Linked DNA regions of Homo sapiens: all the other regions are linked to region 1. The links are contacts of gene promoters, found by promoter capture Hi-C in blood cells and fetal thymus (Javierre and others, 2016). All regions are on one chromosome and are shown on one strand. The core of a region is centred on a gene start or on the middle of the fragment in contact, and the rest is flanking DNA. Distances in the headings are between cores, read along the strand shown. Region 1 holds the start of SMARCD2 (SWI/SNF related BAF chromatin remodeling complex subunit D2). Region 2 overlaps ERN1 (endoplasmic reticulum to nucleus signaling 1). Region 3 has its middle 7.2 kb from the start of TEX2.

What was found. The method cuts DNA at HindIII sites, captures the fragments that hold promoters and counts their contacts. A CHiCAGO score of 5 or more calls a contact.
Region 2: a fragment that was not itself captured here is called in contact with the fragment with the promoter of SMARCD2 in region 1 in 2 of 17 cell types (total B cells and total CD8 T cells); the score reaches 5.5 in total B cells.
Region 3: a fragment that was not itself captured here is called in contact with the fragment with the promoter of SMARCD2 in region 1 in 2 of 17 cell types (total CD4 T cells and fetal thymus); the score reaches 6.3 in total CD4 T cells.

Annotation. Positions count from the first base shown.
Region 1 is chr17:63,840,628-63,844,904 of GRCh38, reverse strand. SMARCD2 (SWI/SNF related BAF chromatin remodeling complex subunit D2) reads left to right here and starts at 2,220. Exons shown (of 13, transcript NM_001098426.2): 1 at 2,220-2,446. The coding sequence starts at 2,231. RefSeq lists a cis regulatory region at 229-618, silencers at 1,728-1,897, 2,268-2,497 and an enhancer at 3,218-3,297. The HindIII fragment of the contact is 8,345 bases long and covers 327-4,277 here.
Region 2 is chr17:64,118,806-64,123,112 of GRCh38, reverse strand. The region is part of intron 1 of ERN1 (endoplasmic reticulum to nucleus signaling 1); the gene reads left to right. Among named protein-coding and RNA genes, the nearest start is that of ERN1, 9.2 kb to the left of the region's middle. RefSeq lists enhancers at 1,646-1,785, 2,016-2,075. The HindIII fragment of the contact is 3,044 bases long and covers 1,127-4,170 here.
Region 3 is chr17:64,268,291-64,272,544 of GRCh38, reverse strand. No RefSeq gene overlaps it. Among named protein-coding and RNA genes, the nearest start is that of TEX2, 7.2 kb to the right of the region's middle. The HindIII fragment of the contact is 2,531 bases long and covers 223-2,753 here.

The DNA.
Region 1 (4,277 bases), core at 971-3,470:
GTCTCGAACTCCTGACTTCAAGTGATCCACTCACCTTGGCCTCCCAAAGTGCTGGGATTACAGGTGTGAGCCACTCCACCCAGCTGATCTGCTTTTAAATGCACTTATTAGCTTGCCCCTTTTCTAGGGTAGAAAAAATCTTGTGTTTTCTGATGCGACCCACTGGGTCGCATCAGAATTACCTAGGAAGCTTATTTTTCAAATACAATACTGAGAGCCATTGGATTGGAGGGGTGGCTGGCGGAGGTATTTTGGAGTAGCTTCCCAGAGGACTCTGATTCTCCACTGCCCCTATCACTTTGAGAATTACTGTTGTTCTAGAAGCTTAAAAGGATTGAAATGGATATTAGCTGCCTTATCATGAACTCTTAACCCACTTTACAGGGATGGGAGGGGCCATGATTCAGTGACTTTAACAATTCCAGTGGCCAGTCCCCAGACTGACAGGTTATCGACTCTTGGGGCAATAGAGTGGGATCTCTAAGTTCAGGAGGTAAGAAAACAGCAGCAGCGGTGTTTATCACTAGAGGCATGAGGAGAACTAATTTCTAAAAAGCACTGGAGAACTATACTGTAAAAAAGATCTGGGGTGCTATGATGCAAGGAAGGAAGTATTACTTGGTTGGGGCTGGAAAAATAAAGCAATTATAGTAAAAAAACTAAAAAAAAAAAAAAGTCTAGATCCCGGCTTCTTGACAGTGTGGTCTGAGAAGCAACAGCATCGCTGGCAGCTTGTTACAAATGCAGAGTCCTGGGCCCTGCCACAATCTGCATTTTTAATAAGAGCCTCGAGTGTTTTTTATGTGCTCATTAAAGTTTAAGCAGCACTGGTCCATATCACGGCGAGGAGATCCAGACCATCAGAGGGTAGGCTCCCTGGCACAGCTGACGCATTTTTGAATACTTTGATACAGCACAGTGTACCTGAAAAGATACTGCATTTTTGAAAATTAAGTGCTATAAATACTGGAGAAAGACCTCTTTTTTTAAACTGCGGGGAGGTTTCTCATAAGCCAAATTTCTTTTGACTAGAAGCATTTTCTGGGGAGTAAAGTACCAGGCTTCCTTAAAGTGAGGCGGAGCCACGTTAAAAATGTGCGGTAGAACTCAGCCTTGGCCAAGTCGACCGTTCACCAGCTGGGTCAAGTCTGGAGCCTCCTAGGTCCCTTGGCAGTTCCGAGCTACCAGCATGAGCTTTTACAGGAAGTTGAGTTGGCTGCTGTTCTGCCCCACAGAGCAGCTGAGTCTTTTTTTTTTTTTTTTTTTTTTTTGATGAGTTTCACTCTTGCCGCCCAGGCTGGAGTGCAGTGGGGCGATCTCGGCTCATTGCAACCTCTGCCTCCAAGGTTCAAGCGATTCTCCTGCCTCAGCCTGCCGAGTAGCTTGGATTACAGGCGCCCGTCACCACACTCGGCTAATTTTTGTATTTTTAGTAGAGACGGGGTTTTCACCATGTTGGCCAGGCTGGTCTCGAACTTCTGACCTCAGGGGATCCGCCCGCCTCAGCCTCCCAAAGCGCTGGGATTACAGGCGTGAGCCACAGCTACCGACTCTGAGTTGAGTCTTTAACGCCGAAGATGCAGAAAGGAGACTTGACAAAACTATTTTCGGGGAGTGTGGCCGCGGAATTCGGTGAGGGTGCTATACCGGGAGAGAGTAGTAGCAACGGCTCATTCACTGTGAAGCCCCTAAGTGACCTTAGACCTCTGACCCCGCGCCTCACTCGGCGCTTCCGCGCGCAGCTTCCGCTCCCGCCCCTCCGACGAAAGGCTGGGCCAAAGGTGGGGGGGTGGGGCTCTGAGGTCGGCAGTTAGGGGCGGTGCCCGCTGGGGGCGGGTCTCGCGAGGGGCAGGATTCGAGGAGGCACTCGAGCATTGGGCACCAGGTAGAGGCGGGGCCTAGTGCTGGGCTGGGTTGGGCGGGGCAGGGAGTTCGTAGCCGCCTCTGGGTAACTCGACTCGGGCGGCCAAACCTCCGGAGGCCGGGGACGGAAGGCGGGCCCGCAGCAGATCCTGGATCCGGAATCTCCCGGGCAGGAGCGGAATCTGTCCCGAACCGGGTCTGTGAGGAACTCGCGAACTTGGATTAGGAAATCCCGGAGCCCGGATCGACAAATCCCGGAACCCGGAATTAAGATCGCCAAGTCCCGGATCGCGGAGCACAGAGCACGGAGTGGACTCGACGCGGAGCCCGGAGTCCGGATCGCGGCACCGCGGGACGGGACGGAGCGATGTCGGGCCGAGGCGCGGGCGGGTTCCCGCTGCCCCCGCTAAGCCCTGGCGGCGGCGCCGTGGCTGCGGCCCTGGGAGCGCCGCCTCCCCCCGCGGGACCCGGCATGCTGCCCGGACCGGCGCTCCGGGGACCGGGTCCGGCAGGAGGCGTGGGGGGCCCCGGGGCCGCCGCCTTCCGCCCCATGGGCCCCGCGGGCCCCGCGGCGCAGTACCAGGTGAGCAAGGAGGACGCGAGCGGACGGGGGCGAGAGGCGCTGCGAGGGCGCCCGGGCCGGCGGCTGAAGGGGCCTCGAGTGAGGGCCCTGGGGAATGCATGAGGAACTCCGGGAGACGGTGGAGGGCGGGCCGGGACCCTCGGGCTGCGGCGGGTCGCGGTGGAGAAGTGGGAAGGGGAAGCAGGTTCTGCAGCGGAGGGCTGGAAGCAGCTGGGAGGCCTGGGGGCTTCCGCGGCACAGGGATTCCGAGTGACTGGGAGATGGAGGAGTTTGGGGAGCCAGTGAATTGTGGCGGGTGGGTTGAGAAGTCTAGGGTAGGAGGGCTGGAAAGTGATGAGAAAGTTTGGGAAAGGGCCCTCGCTGAGAAACCGGGGTTACCCTGCATCGGCCTTGGTCCCAGTCCAAGTCTGCCCTGTTTTTTCTGATTGGGAACTGGCGGAGCTCTAGCGTGTCTGAGATGGCTCCCGGCTGCTAATAAGGAGGAAGGAGCCTGGCTTCCCACGGGCACGGGACGCTGAGGCTAGGGCCAGGGGATTCCAGCTTGTGCACGGGCGGACTTTACTCCTGAGGCAGGGCCAGGCGCCTTCGCTGGGAGGACTCCAGCTTAGACCAGAGACGGTGGTGGCCTGGCCTGAGGGGAGGCCCAGCCCAGTCACAGGCCGGCTCTCTTCTGGGCTTTCTGCCTCCTGTCATCGTGTCCGGGAGTTGATTAGTCTGGACGTGCAGAGTGGAGCCCTGCTGGTCTGGGGCCGGAGGAGTCTGCGAGAGTTGCTTCAAAGAGTGCTGTCCTGACCCCTTTGGGGTTTTGAGAGCTGCTCAGATTGCAGCTTCAAAAGCCCTTGCAAAGCAGCGACTTCTGCTCAGTGTGTGAGGACCTCAGCCTGACCCTGCCAGTGCTCTAGTCTGCTGTTCAGGTTGCCCCAGAGGGCTTGGAAACTGTGCCCATCTGCCTTGTCACCCTCTCTGCATTTTTATTTGGCCTTCAGGTTCTAACTCCACCACGTCCGAAGCCATGTGCCCAAGCATTTGACACTGGCTTCTTGCTCATCTACGGGTTTGCTGTGGGCTTCCTCTGTTTTCGACTCATGTCTCCAGGCAGAGGTCCTTAGGGATCCTCGTGGAGTATACACAGCCTACCTGCCCCACTGGGCCCTCACTTCTAAGGAGATGGCTTAACTAGGGACAGTGACTGGATTTTTTTTTCCTTCTTACTCCTCATTCTTCCTCCTTTCTCAAGAGAAAAGAGAGTCTGGGTATGGGCAGAGACAGACCTGGTCCCAGGGATTCCAGCTGGGGCTCATCTCTCCCACCTTGCTGTCCCCGTTGGGGATTCATGGGCCCAGGGTGTTGCTGAGGGCTCCCTGCATCATTCATTGTAGCCCTTGGGCCTGCCCACTGAGACCTGGCCTGGGCACCATCTGTGGGCCTTTGGCCTTGGAAGGACCTGGAACAGACAAGCCGCTCCAGTTTCCTTGGCATGCAAGCCATAGGAAATGTGCCCTTGGGACAGCCCCTGAGAGGATGGATTCCACATGTTTTGGTGGGGGGTGGCCTTGGGCCTGTGGCAAGGCCAAGCTGGCTGGCTGGTTAGGCCTGGGCTGCTAGCTGTGCGGAAGTAGGAGATGGCCCTGAGTCTGGGTTTCCCATCCCACTAGCTTTCCTCCTCCTGGCAGGAGAGGTAGATGGGAAGGAGAACCCAGCCAGCTAACTTTGGCTGAGTTTGAAGAGGATCCTATTTGCCTTCTTTCCAAGTCCAGTTGTATGACTGCCAGGAGAAGGGACTTGAGATCTGGGAAACAAAGGGGTTCCTGTCTGTTAGGGCTCATGAGAT
Region 2 (4,307 bases), core at 1,399-3,898, 280 kb before region 1:
GGCTGTTTTTCCTAGGAATATTTAAGTACCACTTGATAATAAAGTACTACCTTTTGCTGGGATTATCTACCTGGAAAAAAAAAGGGAACAAAAAATTAAAAATAAAATGTAATATCTGTGGTGTTTTATTTTTTGTTTTGTTTTGCTTTTCCTGCAAATTTATTCTTCCAAAAAAAATGTCCCTTTCAAAATAATCACCCTTTGGCGTGAATTTACGGGTTATTGAAATCAGTCTTAAAAAAATTTCCAGTTAAATTTAACAACTTATCTAACCCATTTAATAATTCAACTTTAAAACAAAAACGAACCTTTGAAAACAAATATTTACTCTTAAGCCAGTTATCCTTATACAAGTTAAAACATTCTCCAATTCCTTCCAGTCTTTGCTTAATAGGACTTTTACATGATTCACACTACACTTTTGATCAAAATTGTTATTACCCAGTTTGATCACACAATTTATTGAGGACACTTGGATTTGGTTTTCAGCTATTTATTAAAATGAAATCCATCCTAAAGTGAACAGGATTTTTACCATTTAGGGGATTCAAAAGTATATTCTTTGAAGGGAATTTCCAAAGAATTCCAGAAATATTTTGAGCCCTAGAAGCATGTATGAATAGATGTGTAGCCTCCCAAGATAACTGGAATCAGAGTGCATTAGACTGCTTGATGGGCTCTCGGCCATGTAGTCCAATGAGTCTCAATTTTTTCCCCTTCCAGCTGCACATAAGAAATATGGCGCACATCCCTCAGTAACAGTATGAGCACATCAGAACCTAGGAGGGTGGTGTTTGGGGCACCCTCTCTCAGGCATTACCCTCCTCTCCCAAGCTGAGAAAAATTACTACCCTGCTCTGTCTTCCAGAGCAGACAGATGGGAAAAGGCAACCAGCAAGGGCTGGTAACCTGTCCAGGGTCATGTGTGAGTGGCAGAACCAAACCTTAAACTTGATCCTCCTACCTCCCTTTGAAGAGAAGCCCCTGCAGTGCTTATGTTCTGGTGCGTATGTTGGGACAAACCAGTCTGGCTACCCTCAGTCATACCCTGAGGAGCTGACCAAACTATGTGGCCATGAGAGAAGGATCTAGAGAAGGTCTAGGCCAGTAGGCTTTCTTGTAAGCTTCAGGAAAATACCCAGATAATGTTATTTTTCCTCCGTTAAGAATCATGGCCTTCTACCCTTTGTTGCAGTTGTGCGAAGATGCCATTTTGAGATGGGAATGCTGCCTTCACCTGAGAGTCTCCATCAAGGAAATTGGCCATTTTCAACTGTAGAGTCAAATCCAGCAATCATGGAGAGAGTAGGGATTAAAAGCCTGCTCGGCTGGGCACAGTGGCTCACGCCTGTAATTCCAGCACTTCAGGAAGCTGAGGCGGGCGGATCATAAGGTCAGGAGTTCAAGACCAGCCTGGCCAACATGGTGAAACCCCATCTCTACAAAAATACAAAAATTAGCCAGGCATGGTGGCGGGCACCTGTAATCCCAGCTACTCATGAGGCTGAGGCAGAAGAATCGCTTGAACCTGGGAGGCGGAGGTTGCAGTGAGCTGAGATCCTGCCATTGCACTCCAGCCTGGGCAACAGAGACTCCGTCTCAACAACAACAACAAAAAATTGCCTGCTAAGCCTAATTCACAGTTTAAGCTAATTTCTTTGCTTGGAGTCTAATAATATCCAAGCAGGTGCATGTTTTCAGTAACATCTCGCCTAGTCATATGTCTGAAAGAACAAAACTGAAAGTTCTTTCCTTAGAGGCCTTTAACCCAAGCCGCTCTTCTCTAGCTCAGTCACAGCCTTCACCAAGAAGTCCTGAAAAGATAGAACTCTTGCATTACCGTGCTGGTTCTGGGTGTTTGCCTTTGCAGAGGCGCCACCTGCCAAGCAGTTCTGGCACCAGGGAGCAGGTCTGTGATGACAGGAGAGAGACAGTGGCTGTGACTCTGGCTCTTAAACCACAATGGAGGGATTCAAGTTAGCTTAGGTAGCTCTCAGAGGAGACTAATGAGGGAAGGAAGGAGCAAGGGGGGAAGGAAGGTGCCCCTGGGAGTGTGTCTCACTTCCCTTGCTGGTTCATCCGAGAAGGCAGGGACCCTGGCTTGCTGATGGTTGCATCCTCTGTGGCATTTAACGTGGCATGCTGGTTATACCCACTGTAGGGGGCACTCAGCAAATATTTATTGAATTCTTCTTTGAGACTCATTAAGACCAATAAAGGGGCTGTATTATATCATCAAGCAAGTGGGTTGTGGATGGGGGTGGGAGGTATTGCTTCAGCTATATTTTATATTCTTTAATGGGATTGCACCAGTTGTGTGTCTTTCTACAGAACTAGAGGAGCTTTCAGGATATTTGCTTGGGTGGACGTGACCCATAGTGTGTAGTGTTCTTTTGGTGGGCTCTTCTTATCAGTAATGAGATTAATTTTTCCATTGCCAAACTCCATGAGGTAAACAGTTTGTGATTATTTCATGTCAGTTTCATTTTTCACTCAGCATGATGTTTCACTGTTAAAAAAATGAACCTTGGCCCAGAGTTGTCCTCTCATGTATTAAACATGACTTCCTTTGTTAGTAGACTAATTTATAATTATAATTCAAAACCATCCCATTCTCCAGTGGATTATTTCCCCCCTCTCTGTCAGATGAAGGAATAATTGTTTGTCTGGGCTGCAGGAGTGTCTGTCATGGAAACCGAATTTTTCTGTACATTCTCTGAACAAACAGTGCTGTCACATCCCTAGAACCTGACATTGTCATTGATCTCCAGTTGAGTCAGAGAAGTTTGTTGACCAAGGTAAATCAGATCTCTCTTCTCTTAAAGCAAATGGCCCATGACTCCTGAGGGGCCACTAGGAGTGAGAGAATCACCTGTACAGGGGGCCACAACTGTGGCTAGGAATGTGTTACTTGAGGCGGTGCTTCCCAGCCATGACTCAGTCACCTGGGGAGCTTTTTAAAAACGCTGTGCTGGGGCCCCATCCTATGTGAATGAAATTGGAATCTCTGGGAGTGGGGGCCGGCATCTTTTCTTTTTTAAAAAAAAAATGTTTAAGGCCAGGCTCAGTGGCTTACACCTGTAATCCCAGCACTTTGGGAGGCCAAGACAAGAGGATCACTTGAAGTCAGGAGTTTGAGACCAGACTGGGCAACAATGAAAGACCCCATCTCTACCAAATAAACCAGCAAAAAATGTTTTAAGGCCCAAGTGACTCTGATGTGCAGCCAGGATGAGGCCTTCAAGTAATTTTTGTACCTTAATCCTGGAAAGAACAAATGCATCTCCAAATTCCCAGTCACGTCACAGAGCACGGGACCAGACTAGACACAGCATTTGGCTCATTTTACAGAGAGGTTAGGATTGATAGAGTCCGCTAGTTAGTGTTAGAACTAGAAATAAAGTTCTAACTTTATTTCTAGTTCTAGGCGTGGTGGCTCATGCCTGTAATCCCAGCACTTTGGGAGGCTGAGACGGGCGGATCATCTGAGGTCAGGAGTTGGAGATCAGCCTGGCCAACATGGTGAAACCCCGTCTCTACTAAAAAAATGACAAAAATTAGCCAGGCGTGGTGGCGCGTGCCTGTAATCCCAGCTGCTTGGGAGGCTGAGGCAGGAGAATTGCTTGAACCCAGGAGGCAGAGGTTGCAGTGAGCCAAGATCCCACCACTGCACTCCAGCCTGGGGAACAAGAGTGAAACTCAATCTCAAAAAAAAAAAAAAAAAAAAAAAAAAAAACCTAGAAAAAAAGGAACCTAATATTACATTTTCTCTACTGTACTATATCATTCAACTTTTAAAGAGCAGGTAATTTAATGGATTTTTTCCTTTGAATACAAACTGTTGAAATTGCTTTTATCAGCTTTAACTAATAGGCCTTATATTAAAACATATTTAGTTACTGAATTGTAAGATGTTTAAATGTTTATTTAAAGTTACCCGACTTATGCTTGTTTATTTATTTATATATTTGTTTATTGCCTTTTCCATATATTAAGAGGCTTAAGAAATCAAAACAATGTTGTTTTCCAGGCTCCTTCACAGTATCCTGATGGGTAAAATCATCTTCATGGTTTTAAAAGAACCTTCCATAACAAAAATGAAATAGCCATTGCGAGTGAGGAGAAGGGATTTGTAGAAGGAGTGAGTTAGTTAAAGCACAAGAAGAAGCTTGTGAACCAACAGGAACTTTCCTATCAGGGTGGGAACATATGTTTTGGAAGCAAATGGTGGGAGGGTGCAGGCTGTGACACTCCCTTCCCCTTTTCATGTGAGAGCTGGCTATTAGCCTCATTGCCTGAGTCAGGCA
Region 3 (4,254 bases), core at 239-2,738, 430 kb before region 1:
CTCTCTGTGGTGATAGCTAAGGCTGCAGGTGTCTAGGACATGACACGGCTGGAACCTCCAAGATGGTCCATGCACAGATATGGCAATCAATGCTGACTGTTGGCTATGAGGTTCAGTGGGGCTTTCACCTGGAGTGCCTCAGTTCTCTTCTGTGGTTTCTCCATGTGGCCTGGGCTTCTTACAGCATGGTGCCTGGATTCCTAAAGTCAAGAAGTGAAAGCTTCAGTTCTCCTAAGGCCTGAGTTTAGAAGTTCCAGAATATCACAGCTGCTGCATTCTATTGGACAAAGCCAGTCATGGGGTGTTTTATTCATAGTTGCATAATAATCCCAAAATGTAGTGGTTTAAAATGATGATAAACATTTATCTCTCACAGTTTCTGTGGGTGAGGAATTATGGAGCAGTTTTTCTGGGCAGTTCAGGTTGGGAGTGTCCGTGAGATTGCAGTGAAAATGTTGGCCAAGGTTGCACTCATCTGAAGGCTTGACTGGGGCTGGAGGATCCATTTCCAAGGTGGCTTACTCATATAATTGACAAATTGGTGCTTGTTGTTGGTGGGTAGTCTCAGTTTTTCTGCACATCAGCCTCTCCACAGGCTGCCTGAGTATCTTCACAACCTGATGGGTACTATTCCCCAAGCAAGTAATCCAGGAGACCAAGGCAGCAACCCAAATGCCCTTCATAAGCTAGCCTGAGAAGTCATACATTGCCATTTCCACCATACTGTATCTATTGTGACCCCTGACTCATGGTGGAAGGAGAGATTATGAAAAAGCATGAATGACCAGGAAGTGAGAATCATGGGGGTCATTCTGGAAGTTGGCTACCTCACAAGGCCAGCCCAAGATTCCAAGGGATGGAGAAATAAGCTATAGCTGTGGATGAGGGAACAGTCACGACTAAGTGGCCATCTTTAACCTATCAGAGCTCAACTGTCAGGATGTAACAGAGGACCAGTCAGAAGGGGCTCACTGTTCACAGAGCTCCCAGTCTAGAGGACCACACAGAAAACTAGCAGCAGAGAAGGGATGTGTCTATAATCTTGCGTGGTGATGCGTGTCTGTGTGATCCCAGCTACTCGGGAGGCTGAGGCGGGAGAGTTGCTTGAGCCTGGGAGGCAGAAGTTGCAGTGAGCCAAGATCGCGCCACTGCACTCCAGCCTGGGTGACAGAACCAGACTCTGTCTCAAAAAAAATAAAAGAAAATGAGTCTTTTCTTCCTTCTTCTATGTTTCTATGTTTCTTTGTTTTAAAAATATTCTAAATGAGCTTCTATCATGTTCATAACAGAAAAACCCAAACCATTTCTTGCTGCGGTGGATCCCACAGGCTCAGCAGGAGAGGGTGCGGGGATGGGGCAGAGGTTAAAGGTGGGGGGTTCTCCACCTGTGGATTTTGGTTCCTCCTCTGCTGTGGGGTATCCATTGCACTGCAAGTTTCCGGTTCTTCTGAAAGGCCTGTGACTGTTAGTTAACTCACTTCTGAAAACAAAACTGCCCCTTCAGGCGAGGTGTTGGAGGAAGAATCTCAGAAAAGAAGGGTTATGTTTTTGACACTCCAGGAGTGGGTGGAGCAAAGGAAACTAGGAGCCGATGTTTTCCCTCCTGGGTGGGGTAGACCTATGATGCTGTTTTCTGGTTCAAGATCGAGGTGACTGCCTCTCAAATATGAATTTATGTACTGGGACAACCAGAGAGAATATTTCAAATGGATGCTGTCTTGGAAATGCCAGGATACGTAGTCATTGTAGACAGAAGCTGCTTGGTTGTTCGGAACATTTAGAAATCTTTTTGGTTTCCTGCAACCATATGATATCTTCTTTCACTTCTATTTTTGATTTTTGAGGCTTTAGCACATCACCCCATTGTCTTCCTGCATGCCTTACATTCCATGATCAGTAATTTTCTCTATAGTAAAAAACATCAGCTTCCATTAATTGGGCAACTATTATGTAAAGATGCTATACTAAGCAATTTACATACACAATCTTTACAAAACTGTAGGATGTGGACATCGGCAATTTCTAGATGAGGGGCTCAGGGGAGTTCAATAGCTTCTCCAAGGTCACACAACTCAGAAACAATAGAAGTGGACCCTGAACCCAGGTCGAAATCTGAGCCCAGGTTGAAAAGACCTCAAAGCCACTAGCCTAATGCTGCCTCCCTAAAAGAATACTGTAACATTAAAAGACATTTGATATCTTATATCCCTCCATCCTAACTTAAGATATCTTTTTTGGCTCCAAATTTATCCCTCTTTTTGAAAATAGTCTGTACCACACACCTCTTAAACACCCTCTGAGATCCTTCCAGCCACTGCTGTGGCAGTGAGAACTGTGAATGTTCCCAGCAGCTCTGGCAGGTGTAAACTGACAGTATCTTGCCTCAGGCCTGCAGCTGCCATCTCTCAAACCCAGCCCAGGGCATCTCTTCTGACACTGCAGCTTAGAAAGCACTGGAACCCATTCAGTGCCAAGCCAGTGCATTCTGGAAGCTCGGCTCAGGCAGGTGTGCAGAGCCTTTTACCTATGGGGAAGGGGCCAGTGGGTAAGTGCCCTCCCCTTTACCCCAGGGGCGGGTCCTGAGACACTTCTTACAGTCCTCAGACAGTTCCCTCCAAATCAAGCAGCCAGGAATGTGGCCACCCCAGTGACACGCACTCAAGTGCTTCTGCCTCCCTCCCTGCGTCAGTTCCCGGAGCCTCAATTATGCTCCCTGGGCTCACACCCCCCAGTAGTGTATTCACACACAAGCTTTTGTCTCAAGCTCTGTTTTCTGGGCAACTCTCACAGATCCAAACATTTTCCTTGCCTAAACTCTCACCCAAATATCTTTGCTTCTAAATCAGAAAATGGGTGCTAAGTAACCATATGGAAATGATGAAAGCTAGCAATTCCAACATTTCCACTCACAATTCTGTTGAACAACCTGGGAGGGAGCCAGCATCTCCCGCTTATTCCTAGGTACTCTATATCTGGGTGTATAAATGACCTTTTCAAGGTTACGAACCAAGAAACACCCAACCTTCCCCTGTGTTTGGGTGGATGTATATGTCGTTAAATGGCCAGTTGAGCCCTTCCACTTCTGCTATTTAAGGGATGGTGTGTTCTGGTGGGGCTGAGAGGTGCCCCAGCTGCAGGGCTGGGGCTGTCATCCATTGGCTGTGCTGTTGACCTTCTGTCCCTGGAGTTAGAATCGTGTTCGGGGGTGATTCCAGGCAAGCTCAAGATTGGATTTCCCGTGCTGGAGTGGAGGCAGGAGGATGGTAGTCACGAGCAGGGGACCTTGTGGTTGGAAGGCAACAAAGATGGCAGGCAATGTCAAGGTCATCAAGAGAGCAAGGCAGTATCTGCTGAAAGGCATATTCCTTCTCTGTGCAGAGTGTTGGGAAGGCCCTGAGAGGCAAGGTGCAGAATCAGGGCAGAAAGGGAGGAGAATGTCAGTCTTTCTCCTTAGAAATTCCACCCTGGTGCTGCTCCACATCAGTTAGAAGCCACCATTCCCCAGCGGGCCTTGGAATGACAGAGCTTGAGCCATTTATATTTAATAACCTCAGGCCTCACATGCTAATTGGCAAAGTAAATAATGGGCATCACCACTGTCTGCTGCCCCATTATGGCAGGGAATTATTCTCGTGAGTGCATCCACCACTTGAGGCATCTCTAAAGCCCCTGATGATGTCCCTCAAGGAGCCCTTCCCACAAATGCTTGTATCTCGAAGGTGGTGGGAGTCCTGATTATAAACAGGTTTTCATTTTAGAAGGAAAACCAGTCACGAATGAGGCTCTCCCCCTGCCCCCCATCTTGGAGAGCCGTCCCAGTGCTGGTGCAGAGTGAAAAGAAAGTGTTGGAGGCTTGCCCAGTCCTCAGACTGATTATTTCCCATAAAGGATCCAGGGGAAGAGAAAACCCAGGAGTTGAGCATCTTTAGAAACTCCAGTTCTGTGGCTGCACCTGACCTTGTCATCACTCGGAATGGTTCACCAATGAACGAAGTCGGCTTCCTCTCACCTTTCCTGCCACCACATATTTCCTCCCGTCTATCCCCTCTCCCTTGGATTTCCTATCCCGCATGGAACCCATGACCTATCACTTCAACCACCCTGTTGTCAGTGTCCCCAACTGTTTAGTGTTTCTCCTGTCTGTCCATCCCTAACCCTGGATTCTCCATACCTGGCTTCTGTGGCCAAGCCCCAGAGAGCCATCCATCCAACTCCACAGACCTGGTGCCACCACAAACGCATGGGTCTCCCAGA